Linked DNA regions of Homo sapiens: regions 1, 2, 3 and 5 are each linked to region 4. Evidence: promoter capture Hi-C in 16 types of primary human blood cells and fetal thymus (Javierre and others, 2016). All regions are on one chromosome and are shown on one strand. Each heading gives the region's core, a stretch centred on a gene start or on the middle of the fragment in contact. The rest is flanking DNA. Distances are from core to core; before and after follow the strand shown. Region 1 has its middle 27 kb from the start of OTUD4. Region 2 overlaps TTC29 (tetratricopeptide repeat domain 29). Region 3 holds the start of SLC10A7 (solute carrier family 10 member 7). Region 4 holds the start of ZNF827 (zinc finger protein 827). Region 5 overlaps OTUD4 (OTU deubiquitinase 4).

Evidence for each region. The method cuts DNA at HindIII sites, captures the fragments that hold promoters and counts their contacts. A CHiCAGO score of 5 or more calls a contact.
Region 1: a contact is called between a fragment that was not itself captured here and the fragment with the promoter of ZNF827 in region 4, in 1 of 17 cell types (activated CD4 T cells). The highest score is 5.5, in activated CD4 T cells.
Region 2: a contact is called between a fragment that was not itself captured here and the fragment with the promoter of ZNF827 in region 4, in 1 of 17 cell types (M2 macrophages). The highest score is 7.3, in M2 macrophages.
Region 3: a contact is called between the fragment with the promoter of SLC10A7 here and the fragment with the promoter of ZNF827 in region 4, in 1 of 17 cell types (fetal thymus). The highest score is 6.3, in fetal thymus.
Region 5: a contact is called between a fragment that was not itself captured here and the fragment with the promoter of ZNF827 in region 4, in 2 of 17 cell types (fetal thymus and total CD8 T cells). The highest score is 8.7, in fetal thymus.

What each region holds. Positions count from the first base shown.
Region 1 is chr4:145,206,431-145,209,130 of GRCh38, forward strand. No RefSeq gene overlaps it. Among named protein-coding and RNA genes, the nearest start is that of OTUD4, 27 kb to the left of the region's middle. The HindIII fragment of the contact is 3,706 bases long and covers 1-2,700 here.
Region 2 is chr4:146,927,443-146,930,142 of GRCh38, forward strand. All of the region lies in intron 4 of TTC29 (tetratricopeptide repeat domain 29), which reads right to left. Among named protein-coding and RNA genes, the nearest start is that of TTC29-AS1, 5.2 kb to the right of the region's middle. The HindIII fragment of the contact is 1,816 bases long and covers 518-2,333 here.
Region 3 is chr4:146,520,639-146,523,338 of GRCh38, forward strand. SLC10A7 (solute carrier family 10 member 7) reads right to left here and starts at 1,302. Exons shown (of 12, transcript NM_001029998.6): 1 at 980-1,302. The coding sequence starts at 1,079. RefSeq lists enhancers at 430-659, 1,100-1,169, 1,390-1,469, 1,480-1,899, 2,070-2,149. The HindIII fragment of the contact is 7,940 bases long and covers 103-2,700 here.
Region 4 is chr4:145,937,387-145,940,086 of GRCh38, forward strand. ZNF827 (zinc finger protein 827) reads right to left here and starts at 1,437. Exons shown (of 15, transcript NM_001306215.2): 1 at 979-1,437. The coding sequence starts at 1,021. RefSeq lists silencers at 1-189, 310-379 and an enhancer at 754-813. The HindIII fragment of the contact is 1,765 bases long and covers 1,179-2,700 here.
Region 5 is chr4:145,175,163-145,177,862 of GRCh38, forward strand. All of the region lies in intron 1 of OTUD4 (OTU deubiquitinase 4), which reads right to left. Among named protein-coding and RNA genes, the nearest start is that of OTUD4, 4.1 kb to the right of the region's middle. The HindIII fragment of the contact is 1,655 bases long and covers 447-2,101 here.

The sequences.
Region 1 (2,700 bases), core at 82-2,581, 730 kb before region 4:
CTATTCTTATTCTTTGTATTAGTCTGTTGTCATGCTGCTAATAAAGATTTACCTGAGACTGGGTAATTTATAAAGGAAAGAAATTTAATGGGCTCACACATTCACATGGCTGGGGAGGCCTCACAATCATGGCAGAGGCAAAGGGGAAGCAGAGGTACATCTTACATGGTGGCAGGCAAGAGAGCTTGTGCAGGGGATCTCCCCTTTATAAAACCATCATATCTCATGAGACTTATTCACTATCATGAAAACAGTGGAGGAAAACCCGCCCCTATGATTCAATTACCTCTCACCAGGTTCCTCCCAGGACATATGGGGATTATTACAATTCAAGGTGAGATTTGGGTGGGGACACAGAGCCAAACCATAACACCCTTATACCAATACAACAGCAACTCCATGATTCTGCCTAACATGAGTCTACTATCCATCATGCAAACAAAGATACTGTTGTCTTTTTTTCCAGAAAATGGACACACAAGGTCCTAGAAAAGTCAGCCATTGTACCTATCTCAAGATTTTCCAGGTGATAACACAATCCTGTAATCCTCCCTGTTGTGGTTCCTTGTGGTCCTGGTTACCTGTGAACTAAATTGTAAAATTAGTCACTACCAATTCTCATTCAACATAAGAGGGAAGATAATGGTAAGAAAATCTGAAAGAAAAAAAAACTGGCACATATGAAATATTGTGTGCGTGTATGTGCATAGCTGCTATGATCCATATTTCTGTAACTGATTACAGGGTCAAGAGTGATATTTATTACTTCCTTCTTCCACCACCCATTTCATGATTGCTTTGTCCTAATATAGCACCTGGATTTGTTGGGATTCTGTACCTGATTGGGTGACTAAGACCTTTATATTGAAGGATCTTAGTCCATAGAAGTTCAGATTTTATTGGGTGGCTTTACACTGGACATAGAAGTAATGAGATATCCTAGAGAATCCCTGGGGTTCTAGACATGATCCTCCCTACCTGCACCATGCACCAGCCACCCAGTTTTCTTGTGTTAATCAGATCAATTTTTCCAGTCTCTACAGCAACTTCCTTCTCTACTTGTTGGTGAGTCTCAGCTTCCAATTTGATGGGACTTGTGTTGGATTCTCTGGTGACAATATTCCTCTTTGGGAACTAAGTCCTGTAAACTAGCAAAGCCCAAGGGTGAGAATGAGAGGCAAAACCTCTGAGAAAGGGCTAGGCTTAACAGGGAGAGAGGCCACTCCCATTTCTATCACTTGGACTATCCCATGTATTATGGCTATGAGAGAAATAACACATCATAAGTAGAGAGCTGGATCAGAGTTATACTGCACCCCTACATCATAGAATGTTGTCTTCTGGCAGATGACATAACTGGCTTCTTAGTAAGCTATTCTTCCATTCTATTAGGCCAGCTGCTTCTGGCTGATAATTTAGGTAGTAAGACCAGTGAACTCCATGAGCAATGAACAATTGTACTTTTTTTTTTTTTTTTTTGTAAAATGGTTTCCAGAAGTCATATTGTAAGGAATACCATGCTACTGAATAAGGCCTCCTGTGAACCCATAGATGGTATTGGGAGATTTATTGCAGGCATTGAGGACCAATGCATATCCTCAGTAAGTGCTTAATTTGCTCCTTCTGTGATGGAAGGAGCTCACTATTGTCTACCTACCACAAAACAGCTGGCTGGTCTCCTCTGGGAAATGTGCCCTATCAGTGACTCAGTGTTGGCCTCTGCTGTTGGCTGGTTGGGCACCCAGCAGTGGCTATAGTCAGATCAGCCTTGTTAAGGGAAGTCTCTGTTATTGAAGTCCCTGTTATGATTGACTCTATCCCTACTGCTATGGTCACTTTGTATGCAATCAAGTACCACGATGGGTGAGAAAAGAGGCTGTACCGAATATCTTCTTTTTGCTCCCCTCTCCACTGTACTCTGAGTTATGAGTAGTTGCATGTGAGATTCTGCAGTTGCTAGGTATGTCTACCTCAACTATCCAGAGATATATCCAGAGACAGAGGATATAACCACAGGATGGGGCTGCGAGCCCACTGGGCCCACTGTGACATAGTCTCAGCCCCAAACTCCATTAACCCCCTGACCTCTATAAGCCCCCATTCTGAATGAATGATGGATCACAGTGATTTTTCCCAGGGATTAGCATCAACTCAAATTTGATTAGCATCAACTCAAATCTATGAATTCCCCCAAATTTGGATACTTGTCTTTTCCCAGTGCACAGTCATCCTGGTAAAGGACTGCAGATCTCACGGGGTAGGTTTGAAGGACGATTTCTAGTACAAGCAGGCAGTGTTTTCAGATCCTTCCTGATAAAACCCATACTCCTGGCTGGGCACGGTGACTCACACCTGTAATCCCAGCACTTCAGGAGGCCAAGGCAGGTGGATCACCTGAGGTCCGGAGTTCGAGACTAGCCAGGCCAACATAGTGAAACCCCATCTGTACTAAAAATACAAAAATTAGCCGGGCATGTTGGCCGGTGCCTGTAATCCTAGCTACTTGGGAGGCTGAGACAGGAGAATTGCTTGAACCCAGGAGGCAGAGGTTGCAGAGAGCCAAGATCGTGCCATTGCACTCCAGCCTGAGTGACAAGAGCAAAATTCCGTTTCAACAAAGAAAAGAAAAAAAGAAAAAAAACCCCACTCTCCCTTTCAAAGGGTCCCAAGCTGTCGAATTGGCTTAGATCTGGGAAATGT
Region 2 (2,700 bases), core at 176-2,675, 990 kb after region 4:
CTTTTCTATCCTATTTGTCTACACTCTCTTTCCATTTTTTAAATCCTGGCCATGACCCCCAAACCAATGGGTCAAAATCACTACCCACTAATGAGTCACAATCTATATACTATCTGTACTATAATACATACATACAACATACGTACATAGTATATACATGCATAGTATAGAACATACTATAGTATGTTAAATATTAATAAAGGGGAAATAAAACACTTGTACATGACTGTCAATGGCCATCAAGATAGTTCAAACAGGAGTTCTGCTCTCTACCAAGTGTTTCAAAGGAGGCCTCACAAAGCAGGAAACTGTTAAGTTGAAGCTGGAAGATAAAAGCTTGCCCAGTACACAAGGCATGAGAGAAAGCAGAGGGTTTTCCAGGCAGAACACATGTGCAAGGCTATGAAGGGGTAAAAGATCATGGGTTCTCATTCCTGTGAGGTGAGCTAAGCACTGTATGAATAGAGTACCAATGATGCACATACGAGCAGAGCAGCAATGGCCTCAGCTCTCTTGAAGCTTGTAGTCAAGTATAGGAAACAATTATACTGTATTGCAATGGCAATACAGTGCTATAAGTGCACTGGAGATTACAAGATAGTAGCAAGTTTATCTAATACAGTCGAGCCATTTAAGAATGAGTAAGAATCATGAGACAGTAAGGAGAAAAATCATTCTAGGCCAAGAGAATGGAAATACACTAAGAATGAGAGATGAGAGAAAACACAGTTTAATGAAGACCTGAGTATTTTCAGAGGCAGAATGGTATAATGCTCCAAAAATGAGTGTTAGACCCAGACTGCCTAGATTCAAAGTCAGCTCTTCTACTTATTATGTGTGTGTCCTTGGGAAAGTTACTTAGTATCTCTGTGCATCAATTTTTAGCTGTAAATTGAACTAATAAATACTTTTTGTGAATTAAATGAATGAATACATATGAGGCACTTAAAACAATACCTGAAACATAGAAAGTGCTCTACAAATATTAGTCATTACTATTATTTTTGCAAGAAGATGAATTTCAAAGCAGGAATGGAAGGAATTAAACCTGGAAACAGTATGCACAGGCTGGGATGAGACTGGCCTTAATTAAAAAGTATTTCTTGAGTGCCTACTATGTGGATACTGTTATAGGTGCTGGAGACTCAGCAGTGAACAAGACATCCCTCTAGTTGCTCAGGTCAGTTCAGAAGGAGTCATTTTTTATCTATTCCTTTACTAAGTTCCCATGTTTACTCCGTCGGTAAACTCTGATCTCTCTGTCACTTGAATATATTCTAAATTAGACCACTTCTCATCATTTCTACTACATCTGCCCTGATCAAGCCACCAATGTCTTTTGCTTGGGGTGTTCCCCAGTCAAATATCTACAGAGCACAACAGCCTTGAGTGATCCTTTTAAAATAAAGTGATATCATATCATTTCCCTGCATAAAATGAGCCAAAGGTTTCCTAGCATACTTAGAAGAAAATTTAGGCTTTTTGGAAATTATTCTGACCAAATAACTTTTATCCCTTAGGAACAATGTGAAGGGAATTTTTTAAAAATCCAAAAAGCATAAAAGAGATTTGGAAAGATTCTTATTGATCATCTAAGAGTTTTGGAAGATACTCTAGTAATTAATTAATAAGTAAATTAATAAACAATTTGTATTAATTTAAGGACAGAGGCAATCAACATTGGAAATTTTCCAGCAACACAAATCTTTCAATATATAAACCTAGACTAAAACAAAAACTAATAAAGCAAAACATATAATTAAAACTTTTCTAAAATATATTATTCATTTCCCTGCCATATGAAACAGAGTAAGGTCAACAAAAAAATGCTTTGTTATGAATTCTGTTATTTAATTTCAACACAATGTAAATACACTGAAAAGGGTGGCTGCAGGGCCCAGTCATGCCTTGCCCTTGTCCCCAGACAGTCTGTCCTTTTCACAGTGGCCAATTATTTTATCTTCCCCATGTCAGCTAGTATTTCAGTATTTTAGCTTCTTCCTTACAAATTTAATTTACCTAAAGTAGGAAAAACAGGATGCTTCCATGAAAAGCAATATAGGCAAGCTAGTTAAATAAGAAAACCTAATTTTATATACATGTCTAAGTCGACAGACTTGGCCTAAGGATGCCTCCACAGCCCTCCTTACAGTAAAATATGTAGGCTATTTTTCTGGAGCTTTTCTTTGTTGTGTCAAGGTTTGCATGCATATACTGATGTTGGTTAATATAAATCTGACATCTGAATTAGTGATGTGTTCCTGATATTCTTCTTATGAAGGAACTGTCAAGTTTTGCCTGCACTGTGTGGATTGCAAGGAAGAAGAGGAAGAAGCTTCTCTATTTGGGTTTTCTAGCTATACAGTATCTGTGATGTGCAATACAGCAAAGTGCAATAGAATAAGGTATGCCTGTATTTAATATGACTTAACATGCTTACACTTTGGTTTAAAGAGAAGCACTTAAAATATATTGAAAGATTTTTATATAGTGGTATGTAGAAAATTGGGATTAATAGTTAAAGCACAGAGCTTGAAGATGCTAATACACACATACATATATACACACAAACATGCACACATACAATATATATATATATATTTATGAAGATACACACTACATATATTTGTATGTGTGTGTGCATATATATATATATATATATATATATATATATATACACACATATATATCTTGATAAGT
Region 3 (2,700 bases), core at 52-2,551, 580 kb after region 4:
TCAAATATCCTCCTGAGCGCTTCCTACTATGAAATATTGTGCCTGTTCACCTCTATCCTTATTTGCTCCGGTTGCATGAGTTAGGTATTAAACCTGTCAATAAGCTTGGAAACTGACAAACAAGGTCAAAAAGACAAGCGAATTGAATAAATTCAATTAATGTTTATGAAAAGTAGTACAAGATTGTCTAAAGGTGTTGGGGGGGGCATAAAAAACTAATATTTCTAATGTTCCCACCAGTGCCCATCATCTCCTGTACAAAGCTCCCACTATTCAGAGATCTAAGTATGCTTTCAGTCCATCCACATTTCCTTGCCAAAACACACACTACACTACACTACACATAGTCTAACAGTCTGTATCTGTTAGACTGCTAGTATAGCAACTGAATCCCGGCAGCACACGGAAGTATGCTGTAATGAAGTGTCCTGTAATCAAAGAGTGCAACGTGTCAGTCGGCTTGGGAGTTTCTGGAGCACCAGCAACTACAGCAAATCATCACTCTCCAACATGTGGGCCATAAAATCTGAGTTGGGGGCGGAGGTGTCCCTTTTCTTGTTTTTCCTCCACTTTTTTTTTTAATGTGGGGGCGGGGAGGACTCGAAAGTAGACTCGATAATGAGGTCCACTCCAAGATAGATACGGAACTCTTAGCAACCTAGATTCCCTTGGGATAGGATGCTACTTTGAAGGCAAGAGGAGTAAGTTTCATTCTCTGTAACCTCACTTCTTGACACTCAGGATAGTCATTGTTTGTCTACGGAAAAGGCTACCTGCCCTCAAATTCCTTTGCCTCGTTCCTAATTACAAGTTCCCTCTGGGGTTGGTAAATTAGAAAATCAGCAAAAGGGCCAAAGGCTGGTCAGTGCCCCCTGAAATTGGCAAGCGCTTGCAATGAGGGTTGCCCCACCTTTCCAAGACTCACAAATTAGTTCTGAAGTGGGAGCCGCGGTGGAGCCGGCAGAGGTGCAGCACTTACCCCCATTCACCCCTATGGACGGCTCCAGTTTAGCTCCAGCGATCGCCAGCACTATTCCGACCATGAACCAGTCTTTCCTCATTCTCTCCAGCAGCCTCATATTTGTTAGGGTGGGTGGGTTTTGTTTATTTGTTTGGCTTTTTTTCTTTTCAAGCTCCGATCACCTAATCCTTGGAGCGTCTCCACACTTTCCTTGGTCCCTCCAGACATGCAGCAGAGCAAGTCAAATTGCCGATTGTAAAGTAAAGACCTGGGGGTTGCTCCGGCGGCTTTGAGGAGGGTTGGGAGTAGTAGTAGCCAGTGACAGGAAAGTCTCACTGAGCGCCGCCATCACTACCACGCGCCTCAGAATACACGCGCACAAACGCCCCCAGCGCCTCTGGCCGCGGGCTCGCAGGTGCAGATGCTTTGAAATGAAGAACTCGGACCAGGCCGACAACGTGGGCGATCCGGCAAGGGAGGCTGGCCGCCGGATGGGGCTGACAAGCGCACCGCTGTCGAGACCTGCGGAACCTTCTGAATGACGAGGGGTCGGGGAGAGCGTCGTAAGGCGCCACAGCCAGCAAGCCTCACTGACTGTCCTTTTCTAACAAACCTTTAGGCACAGCCACCCACCCTTCTGGAGCATATCTCCATGGAGAGCCTCTCTTTTGCTGTGCCATGACTCCGCGGGCAGGGCTGACGTGTGCTTGGGGCAAGGGATTTCTCCGTTGAAGCTGCGGCAGCGGGGTGCAAGTTTGGAGACGCGCTTCTTCGGGACATTACGGCGCTTCCACGACGCTAGCGCTGACGTATGCGCGGGGGGGAGGGGAGGCCACTCTGGATCTCCGAGTTCCCAGCCTGAGCTGCCGGAGTTAGAGGTGTCCGCGCGGGAAAGTGGCTCGCTGGTGGGCGGGGAGCCTTATCTCTGGCGGTGGGTTGAAAATCCGGCGCCGGGCAGATGCCCACGTTCGCTGGACCCCTGCTTGCCGGCGTCCGCTACAACCCAAGGAAGGTGGGCCCGACCTCGCCAGGTCGCTCGCCTGCGGGTGGGCATTTGGTCCGGATCCCCTTCCCTCTGCGGCCCACACCTGTCTCCGGGACTGGGGAGGGCTGCAGGGATCGGGGCAGATCTGCCTTTGCGGGCCGAGAGTGACAGCTGAAGTCTCCCCACCAACTAAGCTACTCGCGGGCGGAGTGGGGTCTGCGCTGGCAAGCCCCTGGGCGCGCGGGTGCCCGCTCTGGCTCGCCCCCAGGGCTGACCTACCCAAGCCACAGGAAAACTCTGGGAAGAGGGTCGCGGATTCCAACGCGGAAGTGGTGGGGGATTGAGTCTGAGAGGTTGGGGAGTCCTACCTTCCATTGCCACGAGTGCTAGTTCTATCTGCCAGTTTCTTCCTTGAAATGTCTTGTGGCAACCAGTGACATTGATGGTTTCATGAATGGACTTCCTACCGGTAGACCCTGCAAGAGCATGAACTCCACTGTATCATTCATCCAAATGAAGAAAGAAAGAAAATAGTATGTGATATTTTGAAATAACCTGGCATCTGCCACTTAAATGGTTAAAAATAGAACTTAAGGTTTGGAAGAGATTGTTTCGTGATGACAGACTTTAATTCTGAATTTATTCAAAGCTGGAAAGACACTCGTCGTGTCATTTCCTCTATTTAATTTAGCTTTATCTTGATGGCAAGACTTCCAGAAACTAAGCCACTTTAAGAGTTGTGCTCCCAGTTGTA
Region 4 (2,700 bases), core at 187-2,686:
CCGTCTGCTCCGACTGACCCCGCATTTTATTGCGGCCAGGAGCCCTGCTCCTCCCTCTCCTCCGCTCTGCAGGGACCTCGCGCGCCGCGAGCCGCCCTGCCTCCTGCCTTCGCCTCGGCGCAGCTCCCGCACCCCACATCCGCCCGCCGCTGCCCGGCCTCGCCCCCCGCCCGGCCGCCCCGCGCCCCGGCGCGCCCCCTCGCCTCGGCGCCGCGGGAGCAGCCGCCCGGCGGCGCGTGTGTACCCGTGTGTTTGTGTGCGGTGCCCCTACACCCTCCCCAGCCGCTCCCGCCTCGCCCGCCCCCGACTCCCCTCCTCCGCCGCCGCCTCCTCCACCTCCGCCTCCTCCTGCTCCAGCCGCCGCCGCCGCTGCCGCCGGCGGCTCGGGGGCCGACCAACCCCGGCGCAACCTTTAGCCAGGGACGGACCTCTCCCTGGATCCTGTACCCGGCGGCTGCTGCGCGCCCTCTCCCCGACACCCCCAAACGCCATGTCACGGCCCCCAGCCCTCCGCGCGCCCCGACCCCCGCACCCTCAGGCGCCGGAATCCACAAGGAATTTTTTTTTTTTTAAGATTCCAACCTCTCCCACCTCCCCCCACCAAACCCCCGATAAAACCCCCGGCATCCACACTACTCCCCTCCTCCCTTCTCTTGCCCCCTCCCCCCAGCAACCCAGAGTGAGGAGGGGGAAGGGGAGGGAAAGGGAAAAAAAAGCCCGATCTCAAGGAAAAAAAGGGGGGGGGTGAGAGAAAGAAAGAAAAAGAGAGAGAGAATAGAAAGGGCACGGGGCTGATCATCACCAACATGGCTGCCTCAGCATAGACCTAAACGAGGAGTAACCCGGGCTGTGTCTTTGTCAGTTTCACCTCTGTAACCCTAAACTAATGCAGAAAACAACGGAGGAGGCTGCGGAGGGGAAAGAGGAGAGGGAGGGCGAGAAAATGGCACGAGAGGAGGTGGAGAAGGGATGACTTACGTGAGGGAAGGCGCTTGGGCTGCTCCTGCTTCCTCCTGGGCATTTTCCCCCTTTTCTCACATTCTCCTCCTTGGTTAATGTGAGATCAAATAAACCCCCGTGGGGGCAGAGAGGCAGACACTGGCAGGAGCGGGGAGGTAGTTGGGGGGCGGGCGGGCGGGCAGGGGGAAACCCCTTCTCCGGTGTGTGCAATGGGTTGAAGCTTGTTTCCTGGAGCCAGAAGAGGGGTTTTCTTCTTTTCTTTCCTTTCTTTTTTCCTTTTTTTTTTTTTTTTAAATTTTTGGTCGTGCACCTGGCTTGTCCCCGAGCGTAATATTCTTCAATGGAAACGGATCTAATAGGTGTGAGTGTGTGTGTGTCCTATGCTCGCGTGTGTGATGGGAGGTATAAATAAATGAGTGCCGGTGCGGCGGTGTCTATGGCCGCGCTCTGTGTCTCCGAGCCCCTAACACTAATGTCGGGATCAAAGGGCAGCGGCGGCGGCAGCACAGCTCACAGCTCGCTCTCTTGCTCTCTCTCTCTCTCTTTCTCGCTCTCTCTCCTCTCGCGCTCTCTCTCTCGCTCTCTCTCTGTCACACACACACACACACAAGAGGCACAGACTGAGGGAAAGAGCGAGAGCTACACACACACACACGCACGCACACACACACACAGAGCAAAGAGGAAAGTGCCCCAAGGCTCCCAGGGCGGACTCAGCCTCGGATTTACAACCGCTCTGTCTGGAAAGAATGGGGGGCGCGCGTGCGGGGGTGGGATGGAGTTCTTCAAATTTATCCCGCTAGTCACCAAATCTAGGGGGAAAAAGTTTTTCTCACTCTTTAAACAACGATTAGTTCATTATTTTACTGACTTTTAAAAAGGAAATAAATTTCTCTCTTCACTTTCTTTTGTTTATTAAGCTACATTTTGTTCTGTATGAAATTCTGCAGGCTTTTGTCCCTACCCCATCACCTTAAATCTGGAGGTTATCGTCTCCCACACACTCTTCAAAAACATTCCAAAAAAACTAATTTAAAAAAAATGAAGACAACATATGGTGAAATCAATAACTTGGTTGACAGTTGACAGAATAAGTGCCCAGTTTTGGAGTGTCCACTGGAGTTAAAACTGAAAAATGCTCCTAAATGAACATTACAGCTACTTGACAAAGAGAGGAAAATAAGATTAGGTCACCCCTGATGGTTGCTTTAACTGCTACGTGATACTCCTAGAGTGCACACAGCAATCTTTACTTCGGAAATTCACTTTTTCCCCTGCTATATACTGCAGGTATATGAAGTTTACCCTGAAGCAATTCCAGTGTGCATTATGAGCCCAATATAGCAGTTTTCATTAACTGATACATACTTTCATTACCTTACAAATCACACATCTTTCTTCAAAGAGAGACATAAAGGAGAAAAATAGAAAAGGACGGGTCTCACTAGAGCACAAAAGGTACTTGGTGAAAGAGGACTGTTCTCTTTGTGACTTGCAGTCATTTGGATAAAAGTTCACTCAGAGGTTGTTAATGATTTAAACTCCAAAACCTGCTACTATAATTGAAATAAAAATGGTCTGAAGAAGAGTTGTTTCATAAAACTCTCTTTGTAAGAGGAAACTTTGAACTTAGCAGAATACATTATATGTCATGAGTCATGTAGCTAGAAAATAAAAAGGTGCATTATTTAACTACATCTTCCCTTTTTAGCTTTTTTAAAACTCTGACTCATCATCTTA
Region 5 (2,700 bases), core at 24-2,523, 760 kb before region 4:
GGCTTTCAGCCTGTAAGAGGCCGATTTATTTTTCCCATTAATTCTGAATCCACTTAGAGGCTCTGTGTAAAAATTTAAGTCCACTATGGTTTCAGAAAAATTAAGGCACTCATTCTTTCCTTGGTGATCAAGCTTATAAGACAAGAAAGAACATCCAAGTAGGCAGCATAGGGGGTGCAAAAATGTTGTGTGGTATCATCCCAAGAGGTTTGGGGTTTGTTTTTATGCCCTAAATTGTAAAGTACCAACCTACAAAGTATGATCCAGATCCTCTCACTCTGCAGTTTACATTTTCTTCTATTAAACAACCAGTTCAACAAAAAGATAACTTACTGGCATGTGGTCTTTTACCAAAATTCTAAAGCTGTGAATTGAAACAACTATTTCTTTTTTTTTTTTTGAGACGGAGTCCTGCTCTGTCACCCAGGCTAGAGTGCAGTGGCGCAAGCTTGGCTCTCTGCAACCTTCACCTCCCAGGTTCAAGCGATCTTCCTGCCTCAGCCTCCTGAGTAGCTGGGATTACAGCCAACTACCACGGCGCTTGGCTAATTTTTGTATTTTTAGTAGAGACAGGGTTTCACCATCTTGGCCAGGCTGGTCTCAAACTCCTGACCTCGTGATCCGCCCACCTCGACCTCCCAATGTGCTGGGATTACAACAGGCATGAGCCACTGTGCCCAGCCTGAAACAACTATTTCTTATCCAATGCTTCCTTCTAGCTAGCTCCCAATTCTTTTTTCCCCCACCAGGCTGGAGTGCAGTGGTGCAATCTCAGCTCACCGCAACCTCCGCCTCACAAGTTCAAGCGATTCTCCTGCCTCAGCCTCCCGAGTAGCCGGATTACAGGAGCTGCCATGTCCGGCTAATTTTTCTTTCTTTCTTTTTTTTTTTTCCGGCTCATTTTTCTATTTTTAGTAGAGACAGGGTTTCACCATGTTGGGCAGGGTGGTCTCAAACTCCTGACCTCAGGTGATCTGCCCGCCTGGGCCTCTCAAAGTGCTGGGATTACAGACATGAGCCACCACGCCCGGCCCTAGCTCCCAATTATTTAACATGCTTAAAGGAGATTAAAATTCTTTTCTATTACTGGGTATCTCAAATAAAGATATTCCTGTACCGTAAAGGGTTATGGTTTAAAAAAAAAAAACTCAGACACACTTAAAGTAACACATTTCAAACTACCATCAAGGCCTCTTGAGAATTTATATTAATAGAAAGTATCTTTAAAAGTTACAGATCCTGGCCGGGCACTGTGGCTCACGCCTGTAATCCCAGCACTTTGGGAGGCCGAGGAGGGTGGGTCCCCTGAGGTCAGGAGTTTGAGACTAGCCTGGTCAACATGGTGAAAACCCCATCTCTACTAAAAAATACAAAAAAAAAAAAAAAATTAGCCAGGTGTGGTGGTGCGTGCCTGTAGTCCCAGCTACCTGGGAGGCTGAGGCAGGAGAATGGCTTGAAACCAGGAGGCAGAGGTTGCAGTGAGCCGAGATCGTGCCAGGGCACTCCAGCCTGAGTGACAGAGTAAGACTCTGTCTCAAAAAAAAAAAGTTACAGATCCAATTGAGTGGTTCTCCCTTTACGTTTAGCATGAGTAGAGCATTTGGGAAAAGGGAGGCTCCAGCTGTGCATTCTACAGCTCTCTTGGATCACAACCAAGGCTCATTTATACCCACAGAACCGGCACAACTGCCTGGACGCCTAGTATGTCCTATTACGCTGAGATACACTGAAAATGCACCTGTTGAGGTTAGCAATTAGTTTGTTTTCAGTGTAATAACTGGTTTTCAGTTTAACTGATTCTACCTTCACTGCTGTTCTTGGACACTATTAAACTATATTCTTATATATTCTAAGAGTATGTGACCAAAAAGGACTATCTATATATAAAAATAACCACCGTAGAATTTTTTTGCCAATTCAACAAATGACATTTAGCAACACTTCTTTCACAGAAGCTATGTTAGACACTATCATGAATCAAGGTATTACTCGTATGAATAAACCACAGTGTCATCTGATAGGGCTTTCCTCTGCCATTAGCAACGTGGAGCTAGTCTTAAAGCCATTTACCTAGCAACAGGTGGCAAACATAAGTTAGTAAAGCTTATTTTCAATCAAAAGCAATGGTAGGCATATCTACTGGTTCTTCTCTTTTAACAAAGATTTTGGCACATACAATCTATCTGAACCTGTTGCTCAGAAGCAAAACTCTTAGCAACTTCTATAAAGTGTGAGAGTGCTGGTAATTCACAAAGTCAAGCACTGCAAGAAAAGCAAGGTTAAATGACAACTGTCTAAAATGTAAATTATTGTGCAAGGTTGATAACACTTCGAAAGAATTAAAGTAGTATGACAAATATCTCTGCAAATTAATATATACATGAAAGCAAACTAGAAGGCTTTCCCATTTTTACTTGGGACAAGATAGTGATAAATACTGGGAAAGGCTGAGACACTGTTTTAGCAAGTCCTCCAAGACTGCCCTATTTTTAGCTCCATGGCTGTGGAGCTGATTCAGGTCAGGCCTCCGGCAGGCCCAAATCCGTAAGTGTAAAAAGGAAATGGCCTATCTAAATCAGATAATTTGGAGAGAAAGACCAAAATCCTAACTCGAGTCTCCTCCCCGTCTTTAAAAACTGCCACTTAGATTATTTACTTTGATTCCTTCTTAGAAATGATGAGTATTTGTGATTTTATAGG